2 separate regions of the Homo sapiens genome follow, and region 1 is linked to region 2. The links are contacts of gene promoters, found by promoter capture Hi-C in blood cells and fetal thymus (Javierre and others, 2016). All regions are on one chromosome and are shown on one strand. The core of a region is centred on a gene start or on the middle of the fragment in contact, and the rest is flanking DNA. Distances in the headings are between cores, read along the strand shown.

Evidence for each region. The method cuts DNA at HindIII sites, captures the fragments that hold promoters and counts their contacts. A CHiCAGO score of 5 or more calls a contact.
Region 1: a fragment that was not itself captured here is called in contact with the fragment with the promoter of TFIP11 in region 2 in 1 of 17 cell types (neutrophils); the score reaches 5.2 in neutrophils.

The regions. Positions count from the first base shown.
Region 1 is chr22:26,685,038-26,690,902 of GRCh38, forward strand. The region is part of intron 1 of MIATNB (MIAT neighbor); the gene reads left to right. Among named protein-coding and RNA genes, the nearest start is that of MIATNB, 15 kb to the left of the region's middle. RefSeq lists an enhancer at 4,634-5,255. The HindIII fragment of the contact is 5,065 bases long and covers 1-4,175 here.
Region 2 is chr22:26,508,445-26,514,339 of GRCh38, forward strand. TFIP11 (tuftelin interacting protein 11) reads right to left here and starts at 4,029. Exons shown (of 15, transcript NM_012143.4): 1 at 3,950-4,029; 2 at 3,655-3,731; 3 at 2,173-2,258; 4 at 1,620-1,837. The coding sequence starts at 1,828. TFIP11-DT (TFIP11 divergent transcript) reads left to right here and starts at 4,088. Exons shown (of 2, transcript NR_144529.1): 1 at 4,088-4,590; 2 at 4,968-5,895. RefSeq lists enhancers at 3,912-4,091, 4,314-4,851. The HindIII fragment of the contact is 18,663 bases long and covers 1-5,895 here.

The DNA.
Region 1 (5,865 bases), core at 393-2,892, 170 kb after region 2:
AATAAAAAAATAAAAGTAAAAAAATTAGCTAGGCATAGTGAGGCACACCTGTGGTCCCAGCTACTCGGGAGGCTGAGGCAGGAAGATCGCTTGAGCCCAGGAGTTCGAGGCTGCAGTGAGCTATGATCATGCCACTGATTCCAGCCTGGGTGAGTGAGTGAGACCCTGTCTCTTAAAAAAAAACAAACAAACCAGTAAAGGGTTTGTGCATGGTGAGGGGCCACTTGGAATTGAGAAAGCAACCAGGTTGTTAGTACTTTGAAAGAGAGAGGCAGACACCCCTTCTCTCCCTGGTGGGGCAGATAACACTGCTGTGCACACCATTAGTGCCCATTAAAAGTATCCTTTTATGAGGGCAAACTGTTCTTCAAGTTCACCTTGGATATTCCTGCTCGGTGTGAACCTCACCTGCTTTATGAAGGCTTCCAGGTTCAGCTGACCTCACGTTCCTTATGTCTGGCTGGACTCTGGATAAACTTTAATCCAAACACCCAAGACACTGATTTGTAATTTTCTTTGTGTAGATCTTTCTTCCTGATCAGGCCAATGTGTCTCGAAATGAGGCCCTCCAACCACATCATAGTTTTCAAGGTGGAATGGGTTAAAAATACAGACCCCTCTGAATCAGAATCTCAGTGTGTCGGCCCAGGAATCTGCGTCTCTGTTTTTTTTTTTTTTTTTTTTTTTGAGACAGGATCTCACTCTGTCATCCAGACTGGAGTGCAGTGGCACAATCATAGCTCATTGTAACCTTGAACTCCTGGGCACAAGGGATCTTCCTGCCTCAGCCTCTGAATAGCAGGGACTATAAGCACGGGCCAGCATTTCTGGCTATTTTTATTTTTTGTAGAGATGGGATCTTGCTAGGTTGCCCAGGCTGGTTTTAAGCTCCTGTTCTCAAGCCATCCTCCTGCCTTGGCCTCCCGAAGTGCTGGGATTACAGGCGTGACCCACGATGTCTGGCTGAATCTGTCTTTCATCTGGCAAATGATTCTTGGGCTCGCAGATGTTTTAGAACCAGTGCATTACAGAGTGAGTTCCTAAGCAGAGGGACTGCATCGGATACAGCACCACGTACCACGGTCCCCTGTGCAAATCTTACGCTCAATAAATGCATGTTGCTTGAATGAATGAGGTTTTAGGCAGGGATGTGGGGAGAGTCATTTTATTCTTCCTAGAATCCCCCACACTCGCTGATGGTCCCCATGTTCGACAAGAGGTCTCACCAAATTTTTCTGCCACTGGGAAACTTCTCCAGTAAGAATTCCCCTATGCCCCACTGTATAATCTTCTCATTAATACACAGTATTGTAAAGGTGATCTATAATTAGATGCTAACCGCGTTTGCCGTAAAATTGGGTGGGCGAGGTCAACAAGGTAAGCTGGGAGCCGGCTGATTGTTATGATCAATCAATAACCTATTTATTTCCCAACATTTCTATTAACCTCTGCCAGCCAATCACAGTTTCAATTTGAAAGGCTGGGGTCTGCTTTGCTGACTGGAGAAGTCTGATTGAAAGCGGGCCTCTGACATGACCCCAAGGGCGAAATCCAATTAAAATCATTTTCACTGGTAGATTAATATTTTTAGCATGTTCTACATCCTGGGATTCATCATTCCTGGCAATAACTAATGTCTTGTGACACGAGCAGGTGGATTGGCACTGCCATCAATAATAATTGTGATTAATTAGCTCATCAGGTGCTAGGATGGCTTTGGGGAGGCAGTTGGTGCAGCTTCTGGGAACTTCTCCCGTCAAACCCTGGTTATGTGGATGTCTCTGGGTCATACCAATGTAACGGCCTTTTCTGAGTAGGAATGGTGTTTATCTGTCTCTGGGTCTGAAACTCCCTTGGAACTATGAGTTCCTTGAGGGCAGGTATTATTTCTCATTGCTTTCAGCAAGTCACTTATTGTTTGGCACACCCAGCTGCCCTTTTCTGAAGACTGTCCTTTACTTTCTCCATCCGCACAGCTACAGTAGAAGCCACCATATTTGTGTAACATGGCCCCATTCCTGGCTGCTGCTTATTGAACTGGGGTAGAGCCCATCTTAAGCCAATGGCTCCATTCTTGGATGCTCTTGATTGGACCAGGGGTAGGTCCCGACCCAAGCTGGGACAATGAAAGCATCAAGGCACCACTTGTGGACACTGTTGATTGGACAAGGGGTAGAGCCAATCTTAAGCCAAACCAATGAAAACCTTATGGCACCACCTCTGGATGTGGTTGATTGGATTAGGAGAAGGGCCCAACCCAAACTGGGCCAATGAAAGCCTCACGACCCCACCTGTGGACACTGTTGATTGGACAAGGGGTAGAGCCCATCTTAAGCCAAGCCAATGAAAGCCTCTTGGCTCTACCCCAGATGTTGTTGATTGGACTAGGAGTAGAGCCCAATCCAAGCTGGGCCAATGTAGATCTTCCTTAGTATGGAATTAGGTTTAAGGGAAGGGGTCCTACTGGCCAACTTGAGTATTTAGGGGAGTTGATGGCCATTGTTTGTACTGTAAACAGGGAACTAGTTATGAATGAAAGTGGTGCTGAGAGAGGAGAAAGGATGAGGGATACAGAAAGTAGTACATCTTAGATTTCCTGGTACATCTCAGTTCCTGTTTCCAGGCCACTCCTGAAACCTGACTGCATTCCAGCTCCTTGGTTCTCTGAGTTATCTCTGCATCTTTGTAATAATTATTCTTCCCCCTACCTCCCTTGCTTGGGCTAATTTGAATGAGTCTGTTACTTTCAACCAAAAGTATCCCAGTGAATTTAGAGCCCAAGAGATGTCCAATGTCACACTGCAGGCCAATGAAAAACTATCCTCTTTCTGCTGACTCTCAGATGCAAAGCCTTTTGGGGGAAGAAAGAAACAAGGAAGAAAAAATAACTCACATTTATTGAAGGCCTACTGTGTGTTAGGTGCTTTGCAATGTCATGTATTTAATGTTTACCAGGCTGGGAGGTAGATTTTATTTTATTAGTTTACAGATGAGGAAACCGAGGCTCAGATATGTTGGATAACTTGTCCAGAGAAGAATTGGGGGTTGTATTTAATTATTTTGGCAAATTCCATGATTGCTGAGCACCCCATGTTGTCTCTTAAAAAGAGGTGTGGCCGGGCGTGGTGGCTCACGCCTGTAATCCCAGCACTTTGGAAGGCCGAGGTGAGCGGATCACAAGGTCAGGAGATCCAGACCATCCTGGCTAACATGGTGAATACCCGTCTCTACAAAAAATTAGCCGGGTGTGGTGGTGGGCGCCTGTAATCCCAGCTACACAGGAGGCTGAGGCAGGAGAATGGCGCGAAGGCAGGAAAATGGCGTGAACCCGGGAGGCGGAGCTTGCAGTGAGCCGAGATCGCGCCACTGCACTCCAGCCTGGGCGACAGAGCGAGACTCCGTCTCAAGAAAAAAAAAAAAAGAGGTGTGCTGCTTTGCTGTAGATATCAGCATGAGGCTGTTGAAAGATAATGAGGTAGCCAGTGGGGACCCTGGGAAGAAGTCAATCTTCAGATTGGTGATCAGCCTCTTGAAGTCCTGTAGAGAACAGACAGAACCAAGAGTTGAGTCTTGACCAAGTCTCCCCCACCTTCAAAAACCATCTCCTTCTAGAACCCACTCACTGCTTTCTGATTGCTTCAGGACTCCCAGGACCCACCCAGACAGCCCCAGCTCCAGCTTCTGGAGACATCTCATTAGTGGGTTCTCTGTAGCCATTCCATCCTTAGGAAAACCCAGGGCAAAACCATATCTTCCAAAAGAGGCTCTGCAATGGAGAAATCCCAGTGGACCAAGGTGCATGATCTGCTTTGAAGCGTTCAGGGATATTTGTCTTCTCCCATTGGGCTAGTGGTGGCGAAAGGTGCACCAGGCTCCCCTTAATGTACACATCTGGATTGAACTGAGATTCCCACAGCAGATTTTCCAATGAGGAGTGGATTGCAACAGGGAAATAAATATAATTATTTATATGCATGCTGGAGAGTTTCAACAGGTACCAACAGATATATTCAGGAGTCAGGAAACCTTGGGAAATTCCTATAGTCCCAAATTCGAATCTCTAGGTCAAGTTAGCTGACCATAAAAAATCAGCCTGGGAGGTGTTTTAACACTGCAGTTTCCTGAGCCTGACTTCTGGGGATTCTGATTCCTGTGGCATATTCGTTCTTTTGAGAAGCTTCAGAGAGAATCCTGACAACCAGCCAGATTAGAGATACACAAGGCACATTATCACATTAAAGGCACTAAAAAGTCCTGCAACAAAGACACCCATGACATTTCATTGAACCAGTTTATCAAAGTTAAACAAACACAGGTCCCTCTTTCTCTATGTTTTGGTATAATACCTGTTTTTACAAGGTCTACTGCTCAGAGAGCTTACCAACTTTCCCGCTTAATAATTATACACTAATATCATGAATCCAGTGATTTTTTTCATGCCCTTCCTATTTTATAGCATTGGGTTATTCTCTCCCTGAAGACAGGAATAGGATCTGTGTTATTTGTAACATCCTCCACATAGAGTCTGAGGAAATGAGTGAGTCTCTTAAAATCGTCTTTGAATAGGGGACGTGGTCCTCTGCCCACCAATAGGAACATTGATAACAGGGTAGGAGAAAGATTTAAAGCAGCTGGTCATAGTAGGAAAGCCTGCAGAGCCACATTTGGTTGACAGTTGTGGATGTTGAGTGCCAGCAGTCCAGCTGCTTCTCTTCTGAGCTGTTTCTCCACTGCTCTGAGATCTGCCTCTTAACAAACTTGGTCCCCAGGTATGAGCCCTCCTGAGACATTTGGTTAAGAAGAGGAGTTTCCCATTTCTCTCCTTCTCCTCCTTTCGGCCACCAGTGGATTGAAGGGAGCAGTGCTGAGGCCATTTAAATGGGCTTCTCTGCAGAACGAACAAGCCCTTGTGTTGGAAATTGGGTTAAATTCAGCATGCATAACCACTCACAATGGCTCTTTACACCCCAGGAGCAGTAAGATCCCACTAATCTTCAGTCAAAACAATTAGAGCATGAAGGGTGGTGTATTCATCCCAAAGGCACTGGGCAACTGGGAGTTAGGAAGGGGTGGGACCACCCACATTCGGGGCTTTGACTTTCCAGCCGCAATGACAAGGCCAAAAGACCCGGGGGATTCGGAAAGCGGGTCTGGTCAGAGAAGTTGCTTCAGTCCATCTGTCTCTTTCTCCACGTGGTGGACTCTTAGCAAGTGCGAGGCACTTTACATGCACCGTGTCATTGCATCCTCACATTAGCTTTGTTACCATCATCTCCTATTACAGCTGAGGAAACCGAGGTGCACAGAGGTTAAATGATGCACTCATCAGAGCCCAGCAGCAAATAGATGGCACAGTTAAATCAGTCCGGTTCAAGAAGAATTTAATAAAGGTACCATTCAAAGAGGTGCTGACAGTGTATTAGTTTTCTATTGCTCCATAACAAATAACCAGAAACTTAGTGGCTTTAAACAACACCCTTCTATTAGGTCATAGTCCTGTAGGTCAGTAGTTCAGGCACAGCATGGTTTTCTGCTCAGAGTCTCACAAGATTGAAATTAAGGTGTTGCTGGGGCTGTGATGCCATCTGAGGCTCAAAGTTCTCTTTCAAACTCTCTCAGGTTGTTGGCAGAACTCAGTTTCTTGCAGTTGCAGGACTGAAGTCCCCACTTCCTTGCTGGTTGTTGTCCAGGGATTGCTTTTACCTCCTAGAGACCACCCTCAGTCCACAGACAGTTCACAGCCTGGATATCTGCTCCTTCAGGGCCAGCAAATGGCTGTCTCTCACTTGAAATCTTTCTGACTTCTAAGGGTCACCTGATTAGACCAGGCCCACCCAGGATAACCTTCCTTTTGATTAACTCAAA
Region 2 (5,895 bases), core at 2,779-5,278:
CTTATGATTATGCAATTCTTGTTCCCTGATCTATTTGTCATCCACTTTCAGACTTCCTTGTGGATGAGAAGTTTGGACTAATCTCTATACTCTTTCTCCCCCAGCCTCCTTTGAAAAAGGCACATTCTCAGCTGGGTGTGGTGGCTCACGCCTGTAATCCCAGCACTTTCGGAGGCCGAGGCAGGCGGATGACAAGGTCAAGAGATCCTGGCCAACATGGTGAAACCCCGTCTCTACTAAAAATACAAAAATTAGCTGGGTGTGATGGCACATGCCTGTAGTCCCAGCTACTCGGGAGGCTGAGGCAGGAGAATCACTTGAATCCAGGAGGCAGAGGTTGCAGTGAGCCAAGATTGCACCACTGTACTCCAGCCTGGCGACAGAGCAAGACTTCATCTCAAAAAAAAAAAAAAGAAAAAGAAAAAGGCACACTCTCAATAGGATAGAGCCTAGAGGCCACAGGTGAGGCCATGGAGGAAAAAACCCCCAACCTGGCACACCCTGGTTGAGTGAGGTTCAGCCAGGGCACACATAACCTTGTGCTGGGGAGAAGACGTGCAGCCTGAATCCTCATTGCCCACCACTATCCTAGACCAGTCCTCCACTACCTGTGCAGGGACCACTGGCTTGGCCTCCTCACAGTCTTCCACTGTGGCTCCATGCCTATTGAGCACACCAGCAAAAGGGTCTTCTCAAAACATAACCCAGCCCCACATCACACCCTCTCTATCACACACACTATGCTACCCTTCCCCCTCTCTGCTCCAGCCCCCAAGCCTTTCATATCCTTGTGGATACCGTGATGCTTCCCATCAAGGGCCTTTGCATATTGGGACCTCTTCTACCACCCTAGTTACCTTCTACTGTCAGTCATATCAGCTTAAGGGTCACTTTTCTCCACAGAAATCTTCCTTGACCTCTCAGAATAGATGAAATGCCCTAAAATGTGTTCTCCCTCATGTCCTCATGTCCCTCATGTCCTGCATCACAGTCACAAGTTTGATCGTCTGAGTTGTTAATGCCTATTTCCATCTTCTAATGTCTGGGCTCTAGGAAGGCAAGAATGGGTCTATAGCACAGGCCTAATACATAGCAATCGCTCAATAAACACTGATAATTAAATCAGTGAGGCCAGGCGTGGTGGCTCACGCCTGTAATCCCAGCACTTTGGGAGGCTGAGGTGGGTGGATCACTTGAGGTCAGGAGTTCAAGACCAGCCTGGCCAACATGGCAAAACCCCGTCTCTACTAATAATACAAACATTAGCTGGAGGTGGTGGCGTTTGCTTGTAATCCCACCTACTCGGGAGGCTGAGGCACGGGAATCACTTAAACCTGGAAGGTGGAGGTTGCAGCTAGCCAAGAGCACGTCACTGCACTCCAACCTGGGCAACAAAGTGAAACCGTGTCTCAAAAAAAATAATAATAAATAGAATAAATCAGTGAAAGAGCAGCACTCTAGCCTAAAGAGGAAACCAGACCTCTCGAGATGATGTCACAGCTAACAGTCTCAACAAGGCCAGGTGAGAAGTATACTTATCAGGGTATCTCCTCCACTCCCTGTCCATCTTCCCCCTCTTCCCTAAAGCAAGGTGAAGCAGCCCCCATGCCAGGCAATACCGTTTGCCTCCAAAGCTGGGCCTCTCATCATCCGAGTCTCGCTCTGCCCACACCCCGTAGGTGGCTTCTTCCTTGGTCTGCCAGTGGCGCTGTCGGTTGGGGTTGAACTCATTCTGGAGATCCCAGTCAGTGATCTCAAAGTTCTCCCGCTCGTCATCATCATCATCAATGCGGCCTTCCCCATCCCGGTATAAGTGGGACAATGACATGGCCAGTCACTAAAGGAAGAGACAAAAAGAGCACAGGCCGTAAGTCCTGGGGGCAGCAGTCGAAGGATTCCTTGTGAGTCTCTATTCCTTGCTGCTTTCAGAACTTTCTCCAAATTCAAAGTCCATTAAAGTCAGCATTACTATTCAATAAAAAAGATATTAAAAACCTACTTTTAGATAACAATCAGTACTAAAACAGGTGAACAAAATACTACTCCTAACAGTCTATGATTCTTTAAAAGTACATATCTCCTTGTCCTAGTCAATATCATAAATATCACACATATTCACACATACACAAACCACACAAAAATAACTAAGTAGGTTATTTTGTACATTATTACCTTAGAAAATGAGTAGGTATCTTCTTAGATCCCAGATTCTTTTTTCTATTACTGAGGAAAGAATTATATCTGGATCCTTGGTGGTCCTAGGAGAGTGATTTTTTTTAGAATATGCTTTTTGAAATACATTACTTGATGAAACAAAATTTTCAGTTTTCCTCACAAAACATGAATTTCTTCTGATGAACTGAAAGACTGTAGTAATTATGAACACTATTTTAATAGTCAGATGTCCAGAGATTGATATAGAGAATCTACCTCACAGTAGCTGGGTGACCAGATTCAGTTGTCTTTCTTAAATTGGGATTAACTACCATACCAACCTTAGAGAAGGCTTACAAAGCAAATTCAATGAGTTCAAAATAAGTGCTCAAGAAACGATAGCTTCTACTTTAGTCCCATGATTAGGTTAATCATTGTATTAGTCAGGGTTCTCTAGAGCGACATAACTAATGGAATAGACATACATATATAAAGGGGAGCTTATTAACTATTAACTCACACGATCAAAAGGTCCCACAATAGGCTGTCTGCAGGCTGAGGAGCAAGGAGAGCCAGTCAAGTTCCAAAGCTGAAGAACTTGAAGTCCAATGTTCGAGGGCAGGAAGCATCCAGCACAGGAGAAAGATATAGGCTGGGAGGCTAGGCCAGTCTCTCTTTTCACATTTTTCTGCCTGCTTATATTCTTGCCGTGCTGGCAGCTGATTAGATTATGCCCACACAGATTGAATTGAGGGTGGGTCTGCCTTTCCCCACCCACAGACTCAAATGTTAATCTCCTTTGGCAACACCCACATAGTCACACCCAGGATCAATACTTCGTATCCTTCAATCCAATCAAGTTGACACTCAGTATTTACCATCACAATCATCATTATTATTATGGGACTAGGGAGTAAACTTAGCAAAGTGACTGTAAAATCAGGCAGGCTAAAATCGAAGCCTGAGTTCAAATTCAACTCTATCAGATACCCAGTGTATGAGAATTAAATATGCACGTGAAGCGCCAAGCATGGTGCACTACACAATAATACACTCCATAGGTGACAGCAATTGTGATTCTTGTCTTGCTGAAAGCGGCCTTAAGGCACACGGAGTTCACTACTTCCACAGGCAGTGTCAAACTCTGGTCACCTCTGGCAAAACGTTATCTCTGCCTTCTTCTACTCACTGGTGCACCGGTTGGGTGCAACGGGTCCCAACCTCTTCCAGGAGTGTTTAGGACAGAAGGATTTTCAGAAAAGACGGGGAATCTCAAATACATAAAGTTAAATAATACCACTGCCTGCGTGGGCATAGTAAATGGTAATAAGCCCCGAGTAGTCACAAGTTATGAAGCCTTTATCAGTAGATGCTAGGTACATGCTGGTCGCTTGAGACCGATTATCAACTGTCTGCATCAAGACACTTCTGCAAGGTAGGTACCGTTAGTTTTCATGCTTCAGATAAGAAAAAGGAGGTTCAGAGAAGTTAGTAACTTACCCTAGGTTCCACTGCTCATAGGGCTCAAACTCAGGAGTGCTAGAAGTCAGGCCTCGGGCTTGTCTCTCTCTTGCTGTCTAGGTTTGGTGAAGGAAGCTCAGGTTCTTAAATGAATCCAAGCCCTAAATCCCAGTTGACCCCAAGCAGCACCGCCCCTCTCCGTGCCTCGGCAGAGCTGTCTACGAAATGGATTCCCCTCCCCACACCCCAACGGCTTGGACCGAAGCTCGCCTTCCCTGAGCCTTCGTCCCTACTCTCACTGGCGCTGAGTCCCCTTGTGGCCAGCCGTGCTCACCTGTCCGAGGGTCCAGCGTACCAAATTCAGCTTCACCATCCGCGCGAGAAGACGCCGCTCCTACACCAGAACCCGGAAGCACCGTGGCCGGCGCGCCGGAAATGACGTTAGTCGACAGCGGATGTCCTGCTGGCTGCCAGGGCAGCGTGGGACGCTACGGCGGATATGGCTGCAGAGCGGCCGGCTGGGATCTTAGATAGGAGGGGTGGATTTGCAAGGCCTAGAATAGCTGGGGAGTGGTTTCCCCGCGGAATCGGCCTCCCTGCCGCTCCTGCTTTGTACTGTGACGCTCAGCCTGTGATGACTGGTGTGGAATCCGCTGAGCCACCTTGGCCTAAGGAGACTTTACCACTCTGAGATTGTAAATCTGTAAAATAGAGATGTAGGATTAGCCCATACGGTAGTTGTGGTAAATACTGTGAGACAATAAGGGGCCTGGGACACAGCATTCAAATGGGAATAATGAAGGTCAAGACTGTGATTCCTGTATCTTTGACGCTCTCGGTATAAGCACCGTCGTGGGCACAGGGCAGTGGCCTTTATGCAGGAGTTTAAGAGGGAATGAAGGAATGAATGGGCAAACTCTGGAGTTCCCAAGTATTCTCTCCAGGAGCTGTTTCCATTCTTTTCGTTTCCAGCAGGTTGGTAAATTCATTAATTTATTCATTGATCTAATTAAAATATACTAAGTGCCCCTCACCTGTGCTAGGCCAATGTGATACAATGAGCAGAACAGTCATGGGCCCTCCCTGGGAAGCCCTCACTAGCCCAAGGACTCCTTGTAGACATTTAAGTGTCCACAGGCTCTGGAGTTCCAACCTTGAGTGCAATTTAGCAGCTGTGGACCTTGGGCAAGTCATTACATCTAAGCCTGTTTTCTCTTCTGCAAAATGGTTAAGGATTCAATAAGATAAAACTGTAGGCAATGAAAACCGTACCTGGTAACAGTAGGTGCTGAAGAAGTGTTAGCTATTAATTTTTGCTTAATTTTTCTCTCTCTGCTCTATGTGATGAAAAGATTCAAGAGGCAATTGTTGGAATGTAAAAAGAGCACGGGACTTGGAGTCAAATACTTAAGTCTACCATCAAGTAGTTGTTAAGAATTAAACAACAATTTTTGTGTACCCAGTTAAATGTGGGCTGCTTAGGAATGATGACTGTGTCTTAATGATCTCTGTATTCTTAGTGACATGTAGAATCATTGTGCCTGACACATAGTATGTACTCAGGAAAGAAATGGAAAATGTGGTTTTAGCATTGAAGGCCGGGAGAGAGGGTCTAACAGACTACAAGCCCTGCCAGGAGCAGAGTAAGGGAAACAGAGGAGAAAAGTGTTTTTAGTCTGTGCCTGAATGTATTTACATCTGTTTGTAGCCCAAAAGCCAAAAGCATACATACGCTTGGCTTTTCTGTAGCTATGTTTATGGCTTTACAGCAGATTTTATGGAGCTGCAATTACTTTGATCATGAGGGACTGATGCTAGTGGATTTACTTCACCAAATGGAACTCACTTTGTGGCTTCTGAAGAAGGGACCTTTGTGGACTGTCATGGAGTAGTTAAGAGTGCAGGCTCTGATTTAGTGATCAGAGTCTGCATTGTCAGGAATGGGACAAAGTGAAGTTATGTGGCACTTGATAGGATGCCCTGAGAAGATTGCAACATCACCCCTGTGATATTCCTGCTGAAGATCCATAACCTGGATGTAATCATGAGGATATATCAGACAAACCCACGTAAAGAGACATGCTGTATACAAAACTGTAATCTTAGAAAGTGCCAAGGTCATGAAAATCAAAGATAGACCCTGGAACTGTTCCAAACTGGAGGGGACCAAAGAGGCATGACAACTAAACACAACACATGATTCTGAACTGGATCTTTTTGCTTGAAAGGAAGTTACAGGGACAGTTGGAAAAGTTTAAATGGGGCCTACAATGCCGTGGT